2 separate regions of the Homo sapiens genome follow, and region 2 is linked to region 1. The links are contacts of gene promoters, found by promoter capture Hi-C in human tissues and cell types (Jung and others, 2019). All regions are on one chromosome and are shown on one strand. The core of a region is centred on a gene start or on the middle of the fragment in contact, and the rest is flanking DNA. Distances in the headings are between cores, read along the strand shown. Region 1 holds the start of ADAM21 (ADAM metallopeptidase domain 21). Region 2 holds the start of LOC105370556 (a long non-coding RNA gene).

The links. The method cuts DNA at HindIII sites, captures the fragments that hold promoters and counts their contacts. A contact is called where the count stands out against the background at its distance.
Region 2: a contact is called between a fragment that was not itself captured here and the fragment with the promoter of ADAM21 in region 1, in 2 of the 25 tissues and cell types used here (H1 embryonic stem cells and hippocampus).

The regions. Positions count from the first base shown.
Region 1 is chr14:70,448,331-70,455,196 of GRCh38, forward strand. It overlaps ADAM21 (ADAM metallopeptidase domain 21), which reads left to right and starts at 3,844. Exons shown (of 2, transcript NM_003813.4): 1 at 3,844-3,933. The HindIII fragment of the contact is 8,309 bases long and covers 2,054-6,866 here.
Region 2 is chr14:70,525,734-70,532,599 of GRCh38, forward strand. The region is part of intron 1 of ADAM20 (ADAM metallopeptidase domain 20); the gene reads right to left. LOC105370556 (a long non-coding RNA gene) reads left to right here and starts at 613. Exons shown (of 3, transcript XR_007064239.1): 1 at 613-680. The HindIII fragment of the contact is 4,789 bases long and covers 270-5,058 here.

The sequences.
Region 1 (6,866 bases), core at 2,594-5,093:
AGTGATTCTCCTGCCTCAGCCTCCCTATTAGCTAAGATTACAGGCGCACACCACCATGCTTGGCTAATTTTGTATTTTTTGTTTTTTTTAGTAGAGACATGGTTTCACCATATTGGCCAGGCTGGTCTCAAACTCCTGACCTCATGATCCGCCCACCTTGGACTTCCAACGTGCTGGGATTACAGGCGTGAGCCACTGCGCCTGGCCTCCACTGTATTCTGAACACTTTGGGTGTTATGTTGTGAGGCCCTAGATCTTATTAAATTTTTTCTTTTATCAGGATCCTTATGATGTTGCACCAGTAGGGTAAGAATGGCATTACTTTGCTGTTGCTAAACGCTGGCATCTTTCCAGGTTCTCCACTTAATTTCTGTTGATATGCCAGGGGTAAAGGGCAGCTCACATCTGCTGTTCAAATGGAAAAGTTCATCCTCCTCTCTAGGCCTCTGTTGACGCCATCTTAGCTGGGAAGTTGAAAGATGCCTCATTACAGCTGTCCAAGTGACCTCCACTGACATTGTGAAATAGGAGCCAGTGTTTGTTTTGTGTTGCTATGAAGCAACCTGAGACTGGGTAATTTATAAAGAAAAGTGGTTTATTTGGCTCATGGTTCTGCAGGCTGTACAAGAAGCCTAGTGCTTGTATCTGCTCCTGGCGAGGTTCTCAGGAGGCTTACAATCATGACTGAAGGCAAAGGGCAAAGGGGAGCCAGTGTGTCACATGGTGAGAGAGGAAAAAAGTGAGAGAGGGAGGAGGTGCCAGGCTCTTTTAAACAACCAGATCTCACATGAACTCATAGAGGAATAACTCATTCATTACCATGAGGACACCACCAATGTATTCATGAAGGACTCACCCCCATGCTCCAAACGTGTCCCACTAGGCCCCACCTCTAACACTGGGGATTATATTTTAACATCAGACTTGGAGGGTAAAAACATCCAAACTATATCATTTTTTCCCAGGACCCCAAATTTCATGTTTTTTTTTTCACATTGCAAAACACAATTATCCCTTTTCAGTAGTCCCCTAAAGTCTGAATTCATTTTAGCATCAATTCAATTAAAAGTCCAAAGTCCAAAGTCTCATCTGATACTCAAGGCAGGTTTCTTCCACCTATGTGCCTGTAGGATTAAATGGTGGCACAGGCATTTGTCAAACATTTTCATTCCAAAAGGGATAAATTGGCCAAAAGAAAATGGGGCAACAGGCCCCATGCAAGTCTGAAGCCCAGCAGGGCAGACATTAAACCTTAAAGCTTTAAAATAATCCTTGACTCCATGTCCTGTATTCAGCCCACACTAGTGCAAGGGGTGGGCTCCCCAAGGCCTTGGGCAGCTCTGCCCCTGCGGCTTTGCAGGGTGCAGCGCCTGTGGCTGCCCTCACAGATTGGTATTGAGTGCCTGCAGTGTTTTTAGGCTAAGGGTACAAGCTGCTGGTGGCTCTATCATTCAGGGGTCTGAAGGGTGGTGGCCCTGTTCCTAGAGCTTGGCTAGGCAACCAGCTCTCATGTGAACTCATAGAGTAAGAACTCACTCATTCCTGCAAGGACAGCACCAAGCCATATATGAGGGATCCAGCCAAACACCTTCTATCACACCTCACTTGTAACATTGGGGATCATGTTTTAACATTAGATTTTGAGGGAACAAACATTCAAACTATATCAGGGCCTCATTTACTGCATGACAAGGAGGAAAGTCTCAGAACTCAACTTGACCTTCTCTGACACCACCCCAGTGAGTGGGGTGGGGGAGGGGATGCCACGTTACAGCTGGGAAGATTTGAAAGTTTAAGCTCCCCATGTGGCTTTTGCTGATGAAGTGCATGTGGGGATACAAGTTTTCCCATGACATTTGGGTGGAGAAGGATGGTTATTTTCTAAAAGTTTTCTGTCTCGCCAGACTGCTCATTTCTGAGTCCTTTGGCTACAGACAGCAAACTTCTTGAGTCTTTTTGTTCTATGTCTGTTGGCATTAAAATGTTATAGGCTTCTCCAGATTGCTTGAGGTTAAAAGAAAACTCAGGGATTCACCACCATGTTATTCCTTAGATCCCAGGGTAGGTACCTTCTCTGCATGATTTTCTCTACCTTTCTTAACCTTCTTATGTTTGTTTTCTATTTAAAATACAGTGTTTTTACTTGCACAGTAAGTCCTCACATCAGCAATAGGTTCTCAGAAACTGTGACTTTAACAGTGCAAAGTAACATACAACAAAACAAATTTTTATTTGTCTCATCAGTGTTATAATGAAACACATTGGACAAAACAATGTTATTTCAGGACCTACTGTACATTGTTTCACCTAAAGTTGCAGTTTCCAAGAACCTATTCATGACATTGAGGACTTACTATACTTACTAGGAATAATAGGAAGAAATGTGTCTACTCTATCTTTTCTGGAACCAGAAGTTCTTAGTGCTGATTCCACAAAGAAATAAATGTTGTCCGGGTGCCTGTAATCCTAGCAATTTGGGAGGCCAGATCACTTGAGCCCAGGAGTTTGAGACCAGCCTGACCAACATGGACAAACCCTATCTCTATAAAAGATACAAACAAACAAACAAACAAAAAACAGCTGCACTCCAGCCCGGGTGACAGAGTGAGACCCTGTCAAAAAAAAAAAAGAAAAAGAAAAAGAAGAAGAAGAAATAAATTTACTCCTTCTTACAGCTAGAGAGATCAAGCCAAGCTCCTTTGGGAAGGTTTCATTCTTTTCCCACCTATGGATCTTGCAGGTTACTATTTGTTCTGCCTGAAGCAGGCATTCTATTCTTCCTCAATTATCTTTCTCCCTGCGTAGAGTTTCTTCGCTCTGCTTACTAGTGCTACTGGCTTGCTACTAAGCTTTTTCCATGATTGAATGTATGTGGTTTCCTCTACTCTAATTTTTTGGGGCTATGTATACCTCATTGTAAATGATGTCTGGTATAGAAGTAGATGTTATCCACTGAGTCCAGCGGAAGACAAACCTCTTTGTATCTACCCCTCCTAAGGCAGAGGTGTCTCCAGTTTTGCATGTATGAGCAAAACAGTTTATCAAAAGGAACCTTGTCAGATTTCTAAAGAAACCAGCATAAATAGTAGAATCTTTTCCTGGCAGGAAATGGAAGGGGTCTGTAATTAAAACTGCTTCTAATTGATGGTTATCCCATGAGGCTCTGATTCTACCAGGTAAATTAGGAGTTGACAAAAATCTATAACAGAAATTCCCAAAGTTAGAGTTAATATTTTATTAAATTAGTCTTTATCCTATGTAGTTTTTATAAATTGAACTCATCTTATTGATTATATATTTTACCAAACACTATACCATAAATTCTCCACCAATCATTTTGAGCATACTTTTCTCCAAAACATTATAGTCTAATAGGAGATGCAATTTTTAAAACTCACGTATGAAACAGAAAATAGCAAGGATATAAATTTTGTCACACAAAAATGTATTGCATATTAAAGTTATAAAGAGAGTTACAGGATGTTAATGTTTTCTGGATTATTTAGGAAAGATTTGATAATGGAAGTGGAATTTGATCTTGCCCTATAAAGTTACTATAATTCAGTTCAATGGGAAAAGTGATTAGACAGTCTAGACCAATGCAATGACACCAGCAAAATTACAAACCTGTGCTGTCAGGGGACATAGACTGGAGGTGAGGAGACAACCCAATTCCAATTGTATTAAATTCGGAAGTGAGTATAGAAATGGCAGGATGAGAGCAAGATATTCTTCAGAGCCTATTATTATTTCTGTAGAATTGAAAGTTCCTTGTTGCTAAGTAGCTAAATCTAGAATTTAGTCACCTGAGAGACAAAAGGGAGAGGGCTTATGTTTCCCTTTGTTCTGTGGCCTCAGCTACAAACCATTGATAAAGCATGGTATAAACCATCTAGACAGAAATGGCCATGGAAACTACTGTTTCTTCTGATGGTAAGTCATTCATAAAGTTTGGTTCTATGCATAATTTGGTATCCAGAGTAGTCCACTGGATAATGTGAAGTCTCTTAATTTTTGTTTTGTTTTCATTTTTTTTGTTTGTTTGTTTGTTTTGAGATGGAGTCTCACTCTGTCGCCCAGGCTGGAGTGCAGTGGCGCGATCTCAGCTGACTGCAAGCTCTGCCTCCTGGGTTCACACCATTCTCCTCCCTCAGCCTCCTGAGTAGCTGGGACTGCAGGTGCCCGCCACCACGCCTGGCTGATTTTTTTGTATTTTTAGTAGAAACGGGGTTTCACCATGTTAGCCAGGATGGTCTCGATCTCCTGACCTCGTGATCCGCCCTCCTCGGCCTCCCAAAGTGCTGGTATTACAGGCGTGAGCCACCGCGCCCGGCGTGTTTTCATTTTTAAAGATATGAGTGACTTGAGCATGGATGTAGGTAGGGTGACCAACCATTCCAGTTTGGTTGAGACTGAGGGGATTGCTGGGTGCAGCACTTTCAGTTTTAAAACCAGGACAGTCCTGGGAAAATCAGGATGAGGTAGTCACCTCAATTGCCAGTAAGGAATAGATAAAGTAGTAGAAGATGAAGATGCAGTTGAGAATAGGGAAAATTAATAGAAACAGTCCTCAAGTAGGTGGGAGAGATGATCTGGAACCATGAGGGGCTAATGAGACTAGAGAGGTAGTAAGGTAGAGAAGAGGTGGATATAGGCAGATTCAGATGGTGAAAGGCCCAGAAACCATTTTATCTTTGAATTTGGCGTGTGTGTGTGTGTGTGTGTGTATCATATTCCAGAGAAAGAAATCCACTTTATATTATGACATTGTGGCTTTACACACACTTACACCCCACATATTTGGCACTGTGTGTGCAAGGTTGCTAAGGATCTTCTAGGGATGCCTTCTGATATTTCTGTTCTATTTCCTCAAGGAAAAAGACTGCAGGCTATAGCCAGCTGAATTACTTCCATGACTCTAATGGGACAGATATTAGTGACAGACAGATAGGAAAACAGTGCATTAGGGCATTGGAATAAGAGGGAAGATGGGTAGAGAGCGGTCTTGATGAATTTGAAATAGCTGTGGGGAAAGGAAGAGTTTATCAAACATGCAGAAGAGGGCTGTTGGCTCACCTGATAGTCCGCTGACATTAGAGGACATGGATTTACGGTGGTACCACTTCACAGTATCCATGGTAGAATGATGGTACTTCAGGAGCTTTGGTCTCTGTAAGTCCTAGGAATGAAGACAATGAGTCTGGTTTTAAAGATTTTTTTAAAGTTATTCTCCTGTTATTGCCTGCTCTCATGCTGAGCTCCAAGAAAAAGAATAATATGACACAGGTTGGTGTAGCTTATCAGTCCTTTCCACAACATTATATCTTTGATTAGTTCTTCCCATTTTCAATCCTCCCATCCACAACAACTGTCACTCCATAGTAAGTAGAAAACATATCAAGAGAGATATAGAGAGCAAATCTGGCAGTTAGAATTTCATCCCAATTCAGAGATCTTTGTTCTTGGAAGTTTTGCCTATGAACTTTGCTTTTCTCTTCCATGCTACTTGCACCTTGTGGAATAAGGTGCCTAACTTGCAGCAGTGAAAACTGCCCAGATGAATCCAGCCTCTTTAAGCAAGTTAATGGCAAGGATAATGTTCAGCTTGAAACAAGTTTTCCCCATCTTCCAGCATCCACATAGCCAGTCTAGGACAAGAAAAGGAAAAAAACCTTAAATACTTTATATTAGAAAGGAAAGGTACTTGGTTAACTAATTCTACTGTGATTGAGAGACAATGAGAATGGATTTTCAGCTGCTGGCACTATACATAAATGAGGAAAACTCAGAAGATTGAGGAGGTGCAAATGCAATATCCAGGAGAATAAAGAAAAGAGCAATATGGCATAGGAAGTTTTGAAATATCTACTGGATTTTATATCTCTATTCCTTAGGCTGGGGATCCAGGACAAGCCATTTCAGTTTTGATTTCTATATTCTCTTTTTAAGCCTTTCACAAACACATTGGTTTTGGGATTTTTTTTTTTTCAGAGCAGCATTAGTAGCTTTGATGTAGGAGTGGAGGAAGTATGTGAAGAATTAATGCAGTTCCTGCCCACCCCCCATTCCCCGACAATCTCTGTCACATTTAGGACTCTCTAGAGTCAAAGATTTTGGCATACAGTGCTTGAAGGGATGAAACTGGTAGCAGAGCTGAATGGATTGGAAGACAAGAACATTAAGAGAAATGGGGGATGATGAAAGAAAAGTATTTGGGTTTTCTTTGGGTTTGAGAAACAGGTATAGCAGAAGTAAGGGGGAGAGCTGGGAGAACTAAAATTGTTGGTAAATTGATTAGGATATATGAAATTTTTTGTGTGTTGACAAGGTATACATTATGACTATGAGTGGGTGGGCTGAATTACACTGAAGATGAATTGAAGAGGTTAAAAAAAACTTTAAAAAACCCTGTCTTGTTTTCAGATGGGTTTTCTATATACTTGCTAATATTACTTTAAGTTGAGGGTAGGAATTTTGGTGGAGAATAATTTTATCAGTCAGAGGCCAGAGCCTTTGAATTTTGTCCAAGTGTGATAAGGGTGGTTGAAGAGACATCTAAAAATAGTGTAGTCAGATATTGCAGGATAAATGATTTGGTGTTCATGTTGTGGGCTGTGGAGAACAGGAACTCTGGTCCTTGTGGTGCATGTGACTTCTGAGGATGGAGTTTCTCAAGAGGAAGCCTTTAGGCAAGCAGTAAATTCTATTAAAGCTCAGGTTCAATACGGTAAGTAGATGTAGGGAGCTTTCTGTGAAGAGGTACAGGATGGAGTTGGTTCTCTCTCTCTCTCCTTTTGTCTTTAAAGGAAGACTCCAGAAAGCACAAGGGAAGGTATAAGAAGAGAATATAAGGAAACTTGAATCAG
Region 2 (6,866 bases), core at 1,414-3,913, 76 kb after region 1:
AGCCCCACTAAAAGGGCTTACTAGTATTGAGAAACCTCCTCCAATCAAGACTTTTTAATTTTATAATATATTCTTATCTGCAGAAAAGCCCTGGGCATTCTAAGGAAGGAAGGCATGTGATAGGGTAACAGGGAGTGAGGCAGCTGTTTTGGGACAGGGCACACAGCCAACTAGCATCATGATCTCTATCATAAGAGGCTCCTCCTGGTCATGTCAATACAGATTTGATTCTACTTTTCACATGGCTGATGAGTTACCTGGATCTACACATTTCAATCTCAATGTTCCAAAGAAAGCCTACACAGAGGAGCTTAAGCCTAGAGTCCATTCATTCTAATGTTCAGAAGACCACAATTTGAGTAGACTTAAAAACCTCATTACTGTTGAAAACAAATTTTGGCTCAAGTAAAAGCTAACTTTGCTCAGTTCCTGACTTTCACTTAAAAATGTTGTTAATGATTTGCTCATATTTGAAATCAAAATGTTAAAACAAATTTGGAGACACGTTGTTAACACATACTGGTGGCCTCAATATTCTAAGAGCACAAATGAGCATGTGCAACCTCCTTAGCATTATGATGTCAAGAAAACCTCTATCCCTCCATGTGGGTGTCCAGAACTAATGGATGGCCACCGGATGCCACAAGAGGAAATCAGGATCACTAGATGAGACCTCTTAGGTAAAGTATATCTGATAGAGGTGAAATCCCAATTTAGATTTCCTCTCCATAGCTCTCCTCATAATATCCTTGGTATGTGTCATAGAGTTTGGAACATTAAGATGGAAATGGGTGAATTGAGAGAGGATCATGACAGAAAAAGCCTTGTAGAGAAGATAAAACCTATATTACATATAGTCAGAAATATGATGAGGTTATAATACAAAAGTTTATTCCAAAGAATCTGTGATAGGCCAGTCCTTGTCATCAATGCATTACTCCAAAGACAAGTCTTAAAGGAACATTGCCTTCCCATTAATTTTGTGAACGGGTGTATTCTGAAGGCCTTTCCTCTAATATTACTGGGATTTCAACCACTGTGAGAATCTTCCTCTGCATCAGTAATTAACTCTTTCTTCTAATTCCAGTAACAATTTAAAACTCATCAACACCCTATCTTATGATCTCTCCCCTCACTCACAGTCACAGCCTAATTTTGTGTTTCTCAAACTCAGGTCACAAACTGTAAATCAATGTAGTGGGCCACAACCAAAGGAAACACAATTGTGTTGAAAATATCAGAGGGTTTTACACAGATCCTTAGCAAGACCTTCAAACACTGTAACCAGAGTTTATATTTAATTTTCTGTGTCTGTGTTTGTATCTGCACACTCCCATGCTCACTGAGTCTCAATGTAAACTAAGCTAAATTTCTTATTGTGGGTCACAGTCAAAATCCACTGGAAGAGCAGTAGCCAAATAATGAAAATGAAAGATTTTGGGGAAAACTCTGTCCCTCTTTCTTTGCTGAAAATAAAATCCTATCTGAAACTACAGTCATTCTTATCTCTCCCTGGGATCTTGGATTCAATTTCAGTGAAAGATGTATCTTCCTCCAGTTCCAGCTCATAGCCCCTCTATCTGTGCTATGAATCCTATAGCCTTACCTACTTGAAGATTGACTCAACTGTCAGATTTATCCTCAACTTTTCCTTCATTACTTTCTCTTTATTTCCAGTACATGAACATACTCAAATCTCTACTAACCTTAAAATATTTATCTTCCTTTATTCTCACATACTCCCATGGCTACCACCTTGCCACTAGAACTTTCTCTCTTTAATGGACAAGAATCACTTACCAGCAAACTGAACAATTATGCCCATAGTTCTTTTAATGGCCACGCTCATCAGTGGTCTGTATTGCCCCCTCAAAAAACAAATATAAGAACTGACATCTCACATGTCAAAAGTAAACAAATCTCTGTAGATCTCACAGAGGATTAAGTTCTTAATCTCGCTGCTCAGCAACAAGGTCCTCTCAGTTACAGATCACACCATGTGGCTCTTAAAGTCAATTGACTCTGCCTCCACCACCTCTATCCAGTTTTCTTTTTCTATCCCTCCCCTACATGCAAGTGTCAGGTCAGCCTCTTCAACCCCATCTTATGAGCTCCACACACAGCATATGCTCACTTCTGCTTTAGGAACTTTGTTCATGCCCTACCCTTATCTAAATCATCTAAACCTTTCCTCATTCTTGAACCACATTATAGTATCCTTCAATGTTTAGATTAAATTCAACTTCTGCTTTGCATCATTAATATTCTGTAAACTTCTGAATAAGCATCATATCCTGTGTTTGAAATATTTATGTATATGGTCTGCTTTTTTATGTGTGGTTCTACCACATCACCAGTTAAACTATAATTTGGTAGAAAAATATAGCAGAAATATTGTTATTGATATAAAATGTTCATACTTTTGGCTAAAGAAAGCTTAGTATCCTTAATATAATTATGTTAAACCTGCATAAAACAAAGGTGAATGTGAAGTTCAATACAATATTAAAAGCAACTGAATGATGATGCACTCGCAGTGGGCGGGGGAGTTTGGAACAACAATTGGGAGACAATTTTATATCTTTGCCATCTACTATCTTCTTTTTTAGATATGGTTGTGAGGAAATGGATCAGAAAGTGAATAGATAAGGATCACTTAGGTCCATCTTCTAAGAAAGTCCTTTTCATTTTCTTTTCATGATTGTATTAATAACTGGATACTTTATTTCTTTTCATGATTATATTAATCACTGGATACATAGGTTTCCCCTAATGTATAGGGGGTTGAACTGTTCCATATGTCCAGGTAGAATTGGAGAATCCTTCTTAGGATGTGTTAAACAAAAAGGTTTCCTCATTCCAGAGCTTAGTGGAGATAATCTGACCATGCCAGATTTGACTGACAATGATGAAAGAAATTGTCCAAGAAATGAGAGGCTTGGGAAAATACACAAACCCAAACCTGGAAAGGTTTTGACAAGGACACAGTAGATGATGCTATCAAGAAGAGAAAACTATAAACAGGCTGATAGATGGCCACATGAAAAGAGAGAACCTCCTTGAGTCTGACAGAATGGGCAATCACCTGGAACATCTGTGTTAGACAATGACTGAAGCTTCCTAAAGCAGGTTTGACTACATCTTGTTTGTAGTAAAAATAATTTCATATGCATCTAAAAGCAAAACAAACTGTTACAAGAGACAAAAGATGAGACTATATAATGATAAAAGGGCTCAATTTATCAGGAAGATATAACAATTAGAAATATATGCACCCAACATTGGAGAACCCAAATGTATGAAGCAAACATTGACATAATTTAAGGGAGAAATAGATAGCAACACAATAATAGTAAGATATTTTGATACCCTATTTTCAATAATGGATAGAACATCCAGACAGAAAATCAATTTAAGAAACTGACTTGAACCATACTATAGACCATATGGACCTAACAAACACACACAGAACATTCTACCCAACACATCAGAACACACATTCTTCTCAAGGGCACACAAAATATTCTCCAGGATAGTTCACATATTAGGTCATAAAACAAGTCTTAACAAATTTAAGATTGAAATCACCCCAAGCATCTTTCTGACCACAATAGAATGAGACTAGCTATCAATAATGTAATGAAATCTGAAAAATTCACAAATACACTCATTTATCACTTAACAATGGAGACAAATTCTGAGAAATGTGTTGTTAGGTGATTTCGTCATTGTGCAAACATCATAGAGTGTACTTCTACAAACCTAGAATGGTATAGCCTACTATACACCTGGGCTATATTGGATAGCCTATTGTTCCTATGCTACAAACCTGTACAGCATGCTACTATACTGAATACTATAGGCAACTGGAATACAATGGTAAGTATTTGTGTATATAAACATATTTAAACATAGAAACAGTAAACATATGGCATAAAAGATATAAAATGGTTCACTTGTTTAGGGCACTCATCATGTATGGAGCTTGCAGAACTAGGAGTTTCTCTGGGTAAGTCAGTAAGTAAATGGTGAGTGAATGTGAAGGCCTGGGACATTACTGTACACTACTGTAAACTTTATAAACACTGTGCACTTAGGCTACAATACATTTATTTTTAAAAATTTCTTTAATAATAAATTAAACTTAGCTTACTATAACTTTTTTACTTTATATACTTTTAATTTTTCAACTTCTTGACTGTTTTGTAATAACACTTAGCTTGAAACATAAAACATTGTACAGCTGTACAAAAATTTTTACATCGTAGGCCAGGCATGGTGGCTCACGCCTGTAATCCCAGCACTTTGGGAGGCCAAGGCGGGTGGATCACGAGGTCAGGAGTTTGAAACCAGCCTGGACAAGATGGTGAAATCCTATCTCTACTAAAAATACAAAAATTTTTATATCCCTATTCTATAAGCTTTTTCTATTTTTAAAATTATTTTTTCTTACTTTTAAAATTTTTTGTTAAAAACTAAGACACAAACACAAACATTAGCCTAGGTCGTCACAGGGTGAAGATCATCAATAATCACTGTCTTCTGCCTCCATATCTTGTCCCATTGGAAGGGGCAATAGCATACATGGAGCTGTCATCTCCTATGATCACAATGCCTTCTTCTGGAACACCTCCTGAATGAACTGCCTGAGGCTGTTTTACAGTTAGCTAACTTTTAAAAAATATATGTAGAAGTATACTCTAATATAATGATAAAAAGTATAGTATAGGAAATCTTTTATCATCATTATCAACTTTATGTACTACACATAATTGCATGTACTATACTTTTATATGATTGGTAATGCATAGGTTTGTTTACACCAGCATCACCACAAACACATGAGTAATGCATTACGATGTGACATTAGATGGCTACAAAGTCACTAGACAATAGGAATTTTTCAGCTCCATTGTAATATGAGACCACTGTCATATATGCGATCCATCATTGCCCAAAACATTCTTATGTGGTTCATCTGCAGATGGAAATTAAACAACACCAACCATTGGGTCAAAGAAGAAACTAAGAGGGAAATTAGCAAATATCTTGACATAAAAATGAAAACACAGCATACCAAAACTTATAGGATGCAGCAAAGCAGTCCTAAAAGAGAAGTTTACAGAGATAAATACTGACATTTAAAAAAAAAAAAGAGAGAGAGAAATCTCAAATAAACAACCTGACTTTACACCTTCAGGAACTAGAAGGAAAGAAGAAAAAACTACGCTGAAAGTCAACAGAAAAAAGACATAAACATTGGAGCAGTAATAAACAAAATAGAGAATAGACCATTTAAAAATCAATACAAATTGGTATTTGAAAAGATCAACAAAATTGGCAAACCTTTAACTAGAGCAGCTAAGAGAAAAACAAAACAAAAATCAGAAATGAAAAAGGAGACATTATAACTAATGACTTAGAAATAAAAAGGTCTAAAAGAAATTACTATGATACAAGGATAGTTTAACATTCAAAAACCAATCATTGTGATATATCACATTCACAGGCAGAAGGATAAAAATTACATGATCATCTCAATAGATGCAGAAAAAGCATTTGACAAAATCCAACACACTTTTTTGATAAAAAATACTTGACATTCTAGGAATACAAGAAAATGGTCTCAACATTATACAGGCATGTATGGAAAAGTACACAGCTAACATTGTACTCAATGATGAAAAACTGAAAGCTTTTCCTCTAAGATCTGGAACAAGGCAAGAATATCCATTTTATCCACTTCTATAAAACAGTATGGGAAGTCCTAGCCAGAGAAATTAGACAAGAAAAAGAAATTAAAATGTCCATATCAGAAAGGAAGAAGTAAAATGATCTATGTTCACGGATGACTTGATCTGTAGAAAACTCTAAAGATTCTACAAAAACAAACCTGTTATAGCTAATAAATGAATTCAACAAAGTTGCAGGATACAAAATCAACTACAAAAGTCACGTGCATAATTATATACTAACAATAAATCACCTGAAAAATAAGAAAACAATTCTATTTACAATAGCATCAGAAAGAATAAAATACTTAGGAATAATCTTAAATTTAAAAAATTAAAGACATGTACACTTGAAATCACAAAACCTTGCTGAAAAAAATTAAAGAAGACATAAATAAATGGAAAGACATCTCATTCATAGACTAGAAGACTTAATATTGTTAAAATGTCCACACTATCCAAAGCAATCTACAGATTCAATAGAATCCCTAACAAAATCTCAGTGGCATTATTAGCAGAATTAGAAAAACAATTCAAAATTTATAAAGAAGCACAAATGGCCCCAAACAGCCAAAACAATCTTGAGAAAGAAGAATAAAGCTGGAAGCCTCATACTATCTGACTTCAAAATATATTATAAATATACAGTAGTAAAAACAGCATGGTACTGGCATAAAAACAGACAGAATACAGAGCCCAGAAGTAAACCCAGACATGTATGAATAAATGACCTCTGATAAAGGTGCCAAAACTACACAATGGGGGAAAAATAGTCTCTTCCATAAGCAGTATTGGAAAAACTGGATATCCACATGCAAAAGCATGAAATTGAACACTTATACAACACAAAAATCGCTCAAAATGAAATAAAAACATAAAAATAAGACCTGAGACTATAAAACTTTAAAAAAACACACACGAGAAAATCTTCACAGCATTTGTTTTTGCAATGATTTCTTGGGCATGACACCAAAAGCACGGGCAATAAAAGCAAAAATGAGACTACCTCAAACTAAAAATCTTCTTAACAGCAAAGGAGACAATCAACAGATTGGAAACAGATGGGCATGTAGTGGCATCATAATTATTTAAATTACCATCCAATGTTAATTGTGATTAAGTTCCCTATTGATG